Regions from separate parts of the Homo sapiens genome. Here regions 1, 2 and 3 are each linked to region 4. The links are contacts of gene promoters, found by promoter capture Hi-C in blood cells and fetal thymus (Javierre and others, 2016). All regions are on one chromosome and are shown on one strand. The core of a region is centred on a gene start or on the middle of the fragment in contact, and the rest is flanking DNA. Distances in the headings are between cores, read along the strand shown.

Region 1 (2,700 bases), core at 197-2,696, 1.2 Mb after region 4:
TAAAAGGACCAGTCCACCAGGAAGATATAAAATCCCCTCAATATGTGCACACCAAACAACAGAGTTTTAAAATCCATAAAACAAAATTGATAAAGCTGACAGAACAGACAAATCCACAATTGTAGCTGGACACTTCAAACCATACATCTCTCAGCAACTGAAAGAACTACTAGACAGAAAATTAGCAAAGATATAGAAGATCTGAACAACAAAATCAACCAGCAAAATCTAATTGACACATATGGGAGAAAAATGTGGTTTTTTTATCCACTCTTCCAATCTCTGCCAACAACACCAGAATACATACTCTTTCAAGCAACCACAGACCATTCATTAAGATAAATTATATACTGGGCTATGAGACAAACATCAAAAAATATAAATGAATTGAAATTATACAGGATATTCTCTGATTATAACAGAACCAAAGTAGAAATCAATAATGGAAAGACAACTGGAAGACCCCTAAACATGTAGAAATTAAACAACACATCTCTTTAAAAATCCATGGGTCAAAAAGAAGGTCTTAAAGGGAATGTTTAAAAAATACATAAAACTGAATGGAAACAAAAATACATCGTATCAAAAATGTATACGATGCAGCCAAAATAGTGCTGAAAGAAAAAAAATTATAGTATTAAATGCCTATGTTAGAAACAAGGAAAGATCTCAGATCAATAATCTAAGTTCTTACCTCAAGACACTAGAAAAAGAAGAGTAAAATAAAGCCAATGCAAGCAGAATTAAGGAAATAACGAAAAGAGCAAAAAATCAATGAAATTGAAAATAGGAAAACAATAAGTAAAATCAATGAAACAAAAAAAGCTGGCTCTTTAAAAAAAATGATAAGATTGATAAACCTTCAGCAAATAAGAAGATACAAGAAAAAAAAACAGGAGACACAAATCACTAATATTGGGGATGAAATAGGGAATATCACTATAGACCATGCAGCTATTAAAAGGATAATAAGAGATTGTATGAACAACCTTATGCTCATAAAATAGAAGAATTGGACCAAATTCTCAAAAACCATAAACTACTAAAGGCAAGCCAAGATAAAATGGGTAATCTGAATAACCCTATAGCCATCAAACAAATTAAATTCATAATGTTTAAAATTTCTGAAAAAGAAATTTTTCAGCCTAAGTGGTTTCACTGGAGACTTCTACCAAATTTTTGAAGAGGAATAAACACCAATATTATACAATTTCTTCAGGAAAATAAATAACATCTATACAAAACCACAGGTGACAAATTATTTAGTGGTCAAATGCTGTATGATTAGCAACAAAAAATACAAAAGATTAGGAAAAATGCAAGGATATGCCTGCTCTCATTTATCTTATTTGACATTGTACTAGAATTTATAGCCACTGCATTAAGGTAAGAAAAACAGATAAAAGGTATATAGTTTGTAAAAGAAGAAATAAAACTATCTCTATTTGCAGATGACACAGTTATCTACATAGAAAATCTCAAAGAATCTAGAAAATATCTCCCAGAGCTAGTAAATGTGTTCAGTAAGTTCTCAGGTTGCGGAGTTAACACACAAAAATTAAGCGTATTTCTCCAAGCTAACAAAATATGCAGAAATCAAATTTTAAAACACAATACCATTTACAGTCACACTAAAGAAAATAATATACTTAGCTATACACTTAACGAAATACATATGGAATCTATATACTGAAAAATATAAAATATTTACAAGAGAAATTTTAAAAGACCGTGTTCATGGTTTTGAGTATTCAACTTAGTAAAGATGTCAGTTCTTACCAAATTGATATACTGGTTTAATGCAATTTGTATCAAAATCCCAGCAGACCTTTTAGTAAACATAGGCGAATTATTCATCAACTTACATGGAAAAATACATGTTCTAGAAAGTTAAATCAATTTTGACAAAGAATATGGAAGGAATCACTCTAGCTGGCATTAAGGCTTACTATTCAACGACATTAATCAAGACACCGTGGTACTAAAAGAGGGATACATACATCCATAGAAAACGAAGAAATAGACCCACACAAACATGTTCAATTGATTTTTGACAAAGGTACAAAGGCCATTCTATGGGGGAAGTTAATCTTATTCACCAAATGGTGCTAGAGCAATTACACATCCATAAGCAAAAGAGGAATCTCAGCACACTTTCTATATAACTAAAAATGAATAACATACATAAATGATAAATGTAAAGCACAAAACCATAAAACTTTTTAGAAGAAAATGTAGGAAAAATCTTCATGACCTAGGGCAAAGAGTCCTTTTTGTTTGTTTTTGTTTCTGAGATGGAGTCTCACTCTCTCTCCCAGGCTGGAGTGCAGTGGTTCGATCTCAGCTCACAGAAACCTTTGCCTCCCAGGTTCAAGTCGTTCCCCTGCCTCAGCCTCCAGAGTAGCTGGAATTACAGGCACCTGCCACCACACCTGGCTAATTTTTGTATATTTAGTAGAGACGGGGTTTCACCATGTTGGCCAGGCTGGTCTCAAACTCCTGACCTCAAGTGAGCCACTCGCCTCAGCCTCCCAAAGTGCTGGGATTACAGGCATGAGCCACAGCACCCAGCTAGAATTCTTAAACACCAAAAGTGTGACCCATAGCAGAAAATAAATTGATAAAGTAGACCTCATTGGAATTTAAAACTGCTTTTGTGAAAGCCTATGTGAGGAGGATTCCTCTGACCATGTAAAAACA
Region 2 (2,700 bases), core at 40-2,539, 1.1 Mb after region 4:
AGCCTCACAACCACCCTGTGGGGAAGGGGTGATGTTCCCCCCACTTCATAGCTGACAGCACGGAGGCTCCGCATACAGAGGGACCTGTCCAGGTCGAACTGAGATCTGTCTGATTCCAAACCCAAACTCTTTCCCATCAGCCATTGGCAGAGAGCACAAGAGAGGACGTGGCCTCACCTTGGCCCCTCTCCTCTTTGCACAGGCTGTCTCTCCTCCTCACCTGTTTTCCCCTCCTCTATTCAATTCCTGCCCAGCCCAAGGCAAGCCTCCTCCAGGAATTCCTCCTTGATGTCTGACAGCCAAACCCCAAGCGTGTTACCCAGCGAGACTGCTGGTTGTTCAATTTGCCAACACAGCTTTAGAGTTTGCTGCAGTGAGTGCAGACGCAAACATGAGCTCATTTCATTCTCTCACCAGGCTCACGAGTATTTGCTGGGCACTGACTTGGAGCCAGGTGCTGCAGGGCTGCAGAGGGTACAGGAACAAACATGCACTGAGCGCCTGCAGATGCCCCTCCCGTGCTCAGGGGAGCCCACATGTCACCCTAGGCAGGATCCTTGCCCCATTTGACAGATGAAGAAACTGAGGCCCAGAGAAGAGGAGGAAGCTGCTCAGGGTCACTCAGTGAGCCAATGGCTGGGATTCAACACTAGGCCAGTCCCCAGATCCACACCCACCGCCCCCCGACACTCCCTGCCCCAGAACCTTTTAAGCTCCCACTGCTGGGGCAGGACTGGCCCTTTGCCCTGGAGCCTCTGGTCATGCAGGTGGGCTCTGTAGCCACAGCCACGCAGGGAGGGGAGGGACAACGTGCAGCCGGCAGGATCCTATGTCACCCCTCGGTGACATGCCCACCTGCTCAGCCCATCCTCCAGCCTGTTCCTCCACCTGGGGGCTCAAAGCCCCTGACCAGCCCCCTGACCACTCACTTCCCCAAACTGTCCAGCTCTGGCTGGAGAAGCAACAGAACATAAATTAATGCATCTTCAGCTCTGGCTCCAAATGATTTTTCTCTCACCTTCCTGGACTGATCCCTCATCAGCTCCATCCTCAGAGAAATATGAGAGGACCCAGAGGGTGGAGGCTGGTCCTAGCCTTGCGGGGACATGGGCCTGGCCCTGGGACTGGTACAGGTTGATAAACCCCATTCCTTGGAGGTGGTGGCAACATGGCTCAGCATGAAAGGTGGGGTCCAGGTGTGTGTGCATGTGCATGTGAGGTCAGCAAAGCCCTCTCTGCTCCCCCAGGCCCTGGACCCAGGCCCTGGGGCTAAGCTAGGGCTGCTGCATGAGTCCCCAGTTTGCTAATGGAGGGGAGGCCTCCCTTGATAATGAGAATCACCTTATGAACTCCCCTGGGCTGCCGCCTCCCAGACTTTATTTTTTCTGACTCAGTCTCAATTTGAAATAAGGAGAGAGAGGCTGAGAGAGAGAAAAATTCCAAGCTGTCACCTTTGGTAGATGCTCCAGAAAAGGAGTCTAAGTCTCACTTGTCACAGGCAGGGAAACCGAGGCTCTAAGAGGGAGCTCAGTGTTTGTACAACCAGTTGGTGGCAGAGCTGGGACAGGCATCGGGACTCAGCAGAGCTCCTGACTGTCAGTGCATGCATGTGAAATGGTGTGTGTGACAGTTAAGGACACAAATGCAGAGTGCGTGAGAACATGTGCCTTAGTCTCAGAGTGTGAGTGTGAGAAACACTTGAGGGCCGTGGCGGTGGCTCTCCCCTCGGGCAACGCCCAGATCCTGTGGGTGACTCCTAGCAGATCTTCTGTGTCCCCAGCCTGTCCTTGCTGGACTCTGAGCTGATGTCCCATTCTAGAAAATTTTCAGCTGCTGGCCAGGAACAGTAGGGAACCCAATTGTTTCTATTTGGTCTTTATTGAATAAAAATGAAATTTAAATTCTTTGCAGGGAGGTAATTTTTCCTAATCACTCACCCTGCTGCACGGATTCCCCACAACTTGATTATGTCTAACTAGATTAATTGTATGGAGAGTGATTTCTTTTCTCTGAGAAAATTAACCACAGAGCAGGGGGGTCATCTGAGCCCCAATGACTCCCTACCCCCAAGAAAGTCCCCAGGGCCCAGGTTCTGGGTGGGGGGGGCTGCCTTGTCCCAAGGCCTCCCTCTGCCTCTCTCCCATCACTGGCTCCTTCTGTCACCAAGTCCCTGTCACCATCTGTCTCTGTCTCCCACTGTCCCTGACCCTCTCCTGGTTTGGGCTTCTGCGGTCCTGACTGCGGGGGAGGCCACCGCCCTGCGCCCCTGCATTAAAGAGGCTGATGTTCTCCATGAGGGGAGGGGAAAGGCACAGTGTGAAGTGCTCAAGTTCACCTTCTGAAGCAGCTTGGGCTGAGGTGAGGGGGTCACATGGACAGCCCCCCAGAGCCCCAGCCAGTGTACCACCAATATCCTGGTTTCCAAAGCCTTTAAACTACATAGAGTTTTACAGTTTGCGTGGGCTGGATGCAGCCTGAGTGCCCACAGAGGGGGCTGCAGGGCCAGGCTGGGCCAGACCAGCTGTGGGGCTCAGGGAGGGCCTGGCTGGAAGAAGGGGGTCTGGGCAGCCCCTCTCTCAGCCTGAGGGAGGCTGAAGGGTCTGCAGTCCCAGTCGCTCCCCCATGGCCAAGCTGGCACTTCCCTCCAACAGGCACAGAATCCCCAGCCCCAGACACCTGCTCCTTCCTGGAGCTCAGCAC
Region 3 (2,700 bases), core at 33-2,532, 1.6 Mb after region 4:
AGTGCTGGGATTACAGGCGTGAGCCACCGTGCCCAGCCAAGGGCATTTTAAAAAAATAAATAAATCAAGCACTCGAAGCCTTCTGTAGCTGCCCATTAGCCTCAGGCAGACTCAACTCCAGCCTGCTCCCAGCCCACGAAGCCCTGGGCTGCCCACCTCCCCCAAAACAGCCTTCTGCTAGTTCTCCAAACACAGGCTGCCCCACTCATGGTTGGGGACTTTGCCCCAGCTGTTCACTCTGCCGGTAGAACTTTCCTCCAAGGCATCCACATCCCTGACTCCCCCCTTTCATTAGGGCTTTGCTGTAGAGATGCCCCCTGACTCCTGACCCCTCTGCCACACTCTCCAGTCCCCCACTTCCCTCTCTGCTTCAACTGGGCTTTCATCCTCATATGTCTTCTCAGGATCACCCATGGCCTGCCTGTGGCAGGACCAAATAGCCAAGTGCCTCTGGGTGTAGGCGGCGGCAGCACCTAACACAGGGAGGCTGGGTCTCCTCTCCAGTCCTCAGCAGCTTCGCTCTGGTTTTCCTCCTGCTTCCTGGCTCCTCTGCCGGTGCCTCCTGGCCTCCCTGACCTCCTGGGAGGCTCTGGTCCTGTGCCCCACCCTCACTCCCTCCTTACGTGACCCACGCAGTCTCTGGCTTCCACCACCTTCTCTCTCCCTGACCCACACCTCCAGCCCCAGCCTTTCCCCAGAGCACGGGACTCCTGTGTCCATGCTCACTTCCAGGAGTTCACGCAGCTGAGTGACGGCATCTCGAAATCCACAGGCCCAAACCCAGCCCTGGCGGCCCCTGCCCCAGACCTGCTTTCACGGCACCCCCAACTCTGTGGGTGATGATGCCCCCTTGCTTATCCTCGACCCTGTCTCTCCGACACCCCACGCCTGCAGACCCAGGATCCGACCACTTCCATGGCTCCTGTTGCTGCCACCTCAACCTCCCAACTTCTGCCCTTGTCCCTGCTTCAAAACGCTCCCGTCCTGCCCTCCCCAGTGACCCCCAACTCAGGGTAAAAGGCCAGCAAGTGTGCAGCTGCCCCCCAGCCCTCGGCTGTGACCTCTTGAACCTCTTCCCCTGCCCTTCGCCCCTCACTCCAACCGCTGGGATCTCATTGCCGGTTCTCAAACATTCCAAGCTGGCTCCCAGCTCAGGGCCTGCGCGTTTGCTGTTACCTCTGCCTGGGCCAGACCTGCGAGGCCCACTCCCTCACCTCAAAATATCACTGGATCAGAGAACCCCAAAAAGTGCTCCTCACAATACTCCCCATCTCTTCCCCCAGCTTAATGTCCTTCAGCTCATGCATCCCCAGCTGGTGGCCTCCCCACAAGCAGGCAGCTCCCTGAGAAGGGGGACTATACCTTTTTTGTTCAATGCCAGCACATAGATCATGCCTGGCACACAGGAGGGGCTCCAGAAATGTTGGCTGAGTCAGCGGATGAATGCGCTGAGCTGAGTGTTGAAGGCTACGTGAGTCTGCCAGGCAGGTGGTGGGAGGAGATGTTCCAAGCAGAGGGAACAGCATGTACAAGGCCAAGGCACAAAAGGACATAGCGTGTCCAAGAAGGCAGGGAGTGCTGCTGTGCAGAGCAGAAGGAGGAGGGTCTAGGGCTGGGGAGTTTAGGGCTGCGGAGTCAGCCAGGGAGCCTGGTCATGAAGGGAATGTGCTTGTTCTTCCATTCATTCATTCATTGAATATTTATTAAGCCCTGTGAGAAGTCTTGCTCTTTCCCCATCTAAAGGGATAAGACTTAATCTTGAAGGTACTTGGGAGCCATTGAGAGATGCAGAGAAGGGGCAGCACCTATCACTGCTGGTCACAGGATGGAACCCCAATATGCCCCCGGATCCTCCCCTACCCCCAGGGGGTGCCTGCTAAGCCACTGCTTCCTTTCCAAGGCAGCATTTTGGAGGTCTGGGGAGAGCATGCCCGCCGAGCTTTCTCCTGGCAAGGCCACAGAGCAACTGAGTCTCCACTAGAGTCAGCCTGTCCACCTGTGGCCCCCCTCGATGTGTAAGTCACATGGCCCAGATGGGGGCTGTGAACCTCCAGAGCTGGAAGAACCTCAGAGAATCCAACCCTTCATTTTCCAGACAGGGCAACTGAGGCCCACCAAAGACAAAGGACTTATTCAAGGTCCTGCTGTGTCTTCAGAGGCAACTCTTGTTTGCAAGTGACAAGCACCTGATTCAGACTGGCTTTTTTGAAAGGACGAGGGACTCTGCAAGCATGACCAGGATGTTGAAGAGTGAACTTCAGGTGCGGTTGGATCCAGGCTTACCTTGGGACACATGCTTCCCCTCTGACAAACACTTGCCACAGGTCTGCAGGACTCTCAGTGGCCACGTCTGGGGATAATGTGTCTACTCCTGGAGTGGGGGTGAGGCGGCGGGGGCAGTGTCAGCCCCACATGGCACCCCAGGACTGAGAAGAGGGTGGGACCCCAAAGGAAAATTGGATTTGCTGGCCCAAGAATGGGGGTAACAAAAGCTGATGTCCCCACACCTAGGAGCTTAGGGATAGAACCCAGACCAGATCTCCACCACCCAACTCCAAACCCAGCACCTATCCCACGTCCCCAGACTCCCTCAGGAAGACAAACTAGACACTAGCGTGGATGGAGGCTGGAGCCAGAGGCAGGGGACCGGGAAGGAGGTTGTCCAGGCGAGAGGCAATGAGCCCCTTGGAAGAAACTCAT
Region 4 (2,700 bases), core at 31-2,530:
AGGTGATTACCACTATGAACTTTGTCTGTACTGTCTCCATTTTTTAAGATGATGAAACCGAGGCTCAGAGAACCTCAGTAACTTGCCAAATGCAAAGCTAGGACAAGGATTTGACCCCAAGTATTTTGATTCCCAGACCTGTGCTTTTGCTTTAGCTCCACTTCAGTGGCCCCAATAGCCCTTCTGAATGGCTATTTATGTGCAGATTTACAATGGTTGGCAACTGACATACTATTTTTATCAACCACGTGCAAAAAGCATGAATTAAGATCCAACAGAATTTTAGGAGGAGGACAAAGTCATAAAAGTAACGAGAAGTTGAATGACTTCTCTAAGACCAAACAGCTACTAAGACGTTGAGCCTGTATTTGACCAAATATAGATACTTGGGTCTGTATGGCACCAAAGCAGCTCTTTTTAACCAAGCCAAGATGCATATACGGTGCAGTGGAGAGAAACATGAGTTTGGAATCAGAAGCCATGGATTCCAGTCTCCTGTTCCAATCACTTATTAGCGGTATCACTCTGGGCAAGTCCCTTGCCCTCTGGAAACAATGATCTATGACCTACTCTTTACTGACACATGAAGATCCAAATGGATGTAAAAGTATTCTGAAAACTTCTTCCAAATAATAATAATAATAGTAAGAACTCACGCAGGTCAGTCAGACATAGGTTGGAATTCTGACCCTGTCACTTACTGGCTGTGTGACCTTGGACGAGTGATTTTACCTCTTCTGCCTCAGTTTTCATCTGCAAAATGGGGATAAATCAATAACTACCCCAAAACATTGTTGTGACAATTAAATGAGAGCATCCATTTAAACAAGGGATTGCCTGACACAATATTCGATCAATAAACATCAGCCATTAATACCCTGATAATTGCCTCTCGGGTCTTCAGCTACCTTCAAGTACGGTCTTTCTGACCTACCAAAAACGCCCTGGGCTTCGGCTTCGGTTTGCTATTCTCTGCCCCCTTCCTCGGACCCTGTCCCTCTCTTCCCAGTCCGCAGCTCGTGTTAAAGCCTTCCAGAAACCCCAGTCCCCTTCCCCGGCTTCGGCGCCGTCTCTTACTCGACGACCTTGGCTGGATCCCCGTGGTGCCCATAGACAAGCGCCCGGACCCGGGCAGGCTCGGCGGATGCGGAGTAGGAGGAGGCGGCAGGTCCGTGACAGCCAGAAGCTGGGAGCAGCCCCCGCCACTGCCGGGCGGGGGTTCGCACCCGCCACAGGGTACTGCAGACCCACATGCTCGCTCCAACCAACACAGAGCCTGACGCCCCGGCTACGTCATCTTCCAGCGACCGCGCGCCTGCGCCCCGCCCCTGCCCCGCCGGGTGACCACTCCCCCTTGGTCCCTTTGAAGGGCGTTTCCTTCCTTCGCTGCCCAAGTGGTGGCGCCTGGCTAGACTGCGTGTGGGCCCCGGAGGGATCCGGGGGTGCGGAGCTTGCGAGGCCGCCAAAGCTGTTGTCTCAACAAGGAGAGTCTGGGGCTAGTCCAAAGTCGTGTCTACAGCCTGCAGTTTGGTGTTTGATTTGGAGGAAATATTTACTCTCCCTGGCCTCAGTTTACCCTTCACATAATATATTGAGTGCTCACCGAGCCAGGCTCTTTAAGGTATTATCTCATTTAATCACCACTACCATGTAACGGCATAGGGAGGCAAAGCTTACTTCCCTACACTGAGGAGAGTACACGAAAGCTGCTGTGGAGGCAGGAGTATGGGGCTTGGAGTTAGAAAACTTAGGTTCAAATCCTAGCCCTGCCACTTCCTAGCTTGGCCACCTTGGGCAGGTGAAACTCTGAATTTTTCTCATCGGTACAATGGGGATAATATGCCTCCTTCCGGATTGTTGTGAGGATTGGATGAAATAATAGAGGAATGCTATTGTGGGTGGGAGAACGCATTGTAAAAAACTCTGTTCAGATGTAAGACAGGAATCACAAGGAGAAGGGTCCTCTCTCAAAATGCTCACAGTGTAGAAAGGGATTAAGTGGAACACTGGAAATGCCTGTAAAAAGGTGTAGCCCTATGAAGGATCTAGTCTGATTTTTGGTGTAGGGAAGACATGAACATTACTAAAACCCCAGATCGAGCTGTGGCTCGTGCCAGAGTGCAATGCTGTAGTCTGAAGAGAAGTGCTCTGGGATGGGGTGGGATGGGGTGGGGGCTCTTGGAGGAGGTGCTGTTAGAGCCAGCCCTGTGATTCAAAATCTTCTGTGTGCATAAAAATAATCCGAGGTCCCATCTTAGACCTACTGAATTAGAATCTTGCGGATGGGGGTTCCAGGAATCTACATCCTTACAAGCTCCCAAGAATATTCTGATGCAGGTGTCCCAGGAAACAGGTTTTAAGATACTGAGCCAGGGCTTTGAAGGATAAGGAAGAGTTCCTTTCCTGGATTTTATTGACTTGAAGCTTGCCATCTCCAAGCCTTTCCTCTGAGGAAGAGAGCACAGCAAAGTACTGTGAGCTAGATTTGGACAAACCTGGCTTTATGTCCTAGCTCTGCCATTTTCCAGCCATTTGATTTCGGACAAGTCACCAGGCCTCTCTGTGTCTTCACTTTCTTACTCTTAAAATGGAAGGAATACTAGTTATCTGTTTCAAGATTGTTGTGAGGGTCAAGTGAGATATTATCCACTTGAAGCATTTAGTACAATGCTTGGCACATGGAAGCATTTGATAAATATT

The links. Contacts are between HindIII fragments. The CHiCAGO score rates a contact against its expected background, and 5 or more counts as called.
Region 1: a contact is called between a fragment that was not itself captured here and the fragment with the promoter of MECR in region 4, in 2 of 17 cell types (activated CD4 T cells and non-activated CD4 T cells). The highest score is 7.1, in activated CD4 T cells.
Region 2: a fragment that was not itself captured here is called in contact with the fragment with the promoter of MECR in region 4 in 1 of 17 cell types (activated CD4 T cells); the score reaches 5.3 in activated CD4 T cells.
Region 3: a fragment that was not itself captured here is called in contact with the fragment with the promoter of MECR in region 4 in 6 of 17 cell types (naive CD4 T cells, non-activated CD4 T cells, naive B cells and 3 more); the score reaches 12.1 in naive CD4 T cells.

What each region holds. Positions count from the first base shown.
Region 1 is chr1:30,392,743-30,395,442 of GRCh38, forward strand. No RefSeq gene overlaps it. Among named protein-coding and RNA genes, the nearest start is that of MATN1-AS1, 320 kb to the right of the region's middle. The HindIII fragment of the contact is 7,712 bases long and covers 1-2,700 here.
Region 2 is chr1:30,359,299-30,361,998 of GRCh38, forward strand. No RefSeq gene overlaps it. Among named protein-coding and RNA genes, the nearest start is that of LINC01648, 320 kb to the left of the region's middle. The HindIII fragment of the contact is 6,766 bases long and covers 1-2,700 here.
Region 3 is chr1:30,787,260-30,789,959 of GRCh38, forward strand. No RefSeq gene overlaps it. Among named protein-coding and RNA genes, the nearest start is that of LAPTM5, 31 kb to the left of the region's middle. RefSeq lists an enhancer at 612-1,124. The HindIII fragment of the contact is 4,549 bases long and covers 1-2,700 here.
Region 4 is chr1:29,229,654-29,232,353 of GRCh38, forward strand. MECR (mitochondrial trans-2-enoyl-CoA reductase) reads right to left here and starts at 1,281. Exons shown (of 10, transcript NM_016011.5): 1 at 1,078-1,281. The coding sequence starts at 1,253. RefSeq lists enhancers at 657-1,157, 1,158-1,658, 1,183-1,292. The HindIII fragment of the contact is 2,647 bases long and covers 1-1,670 here.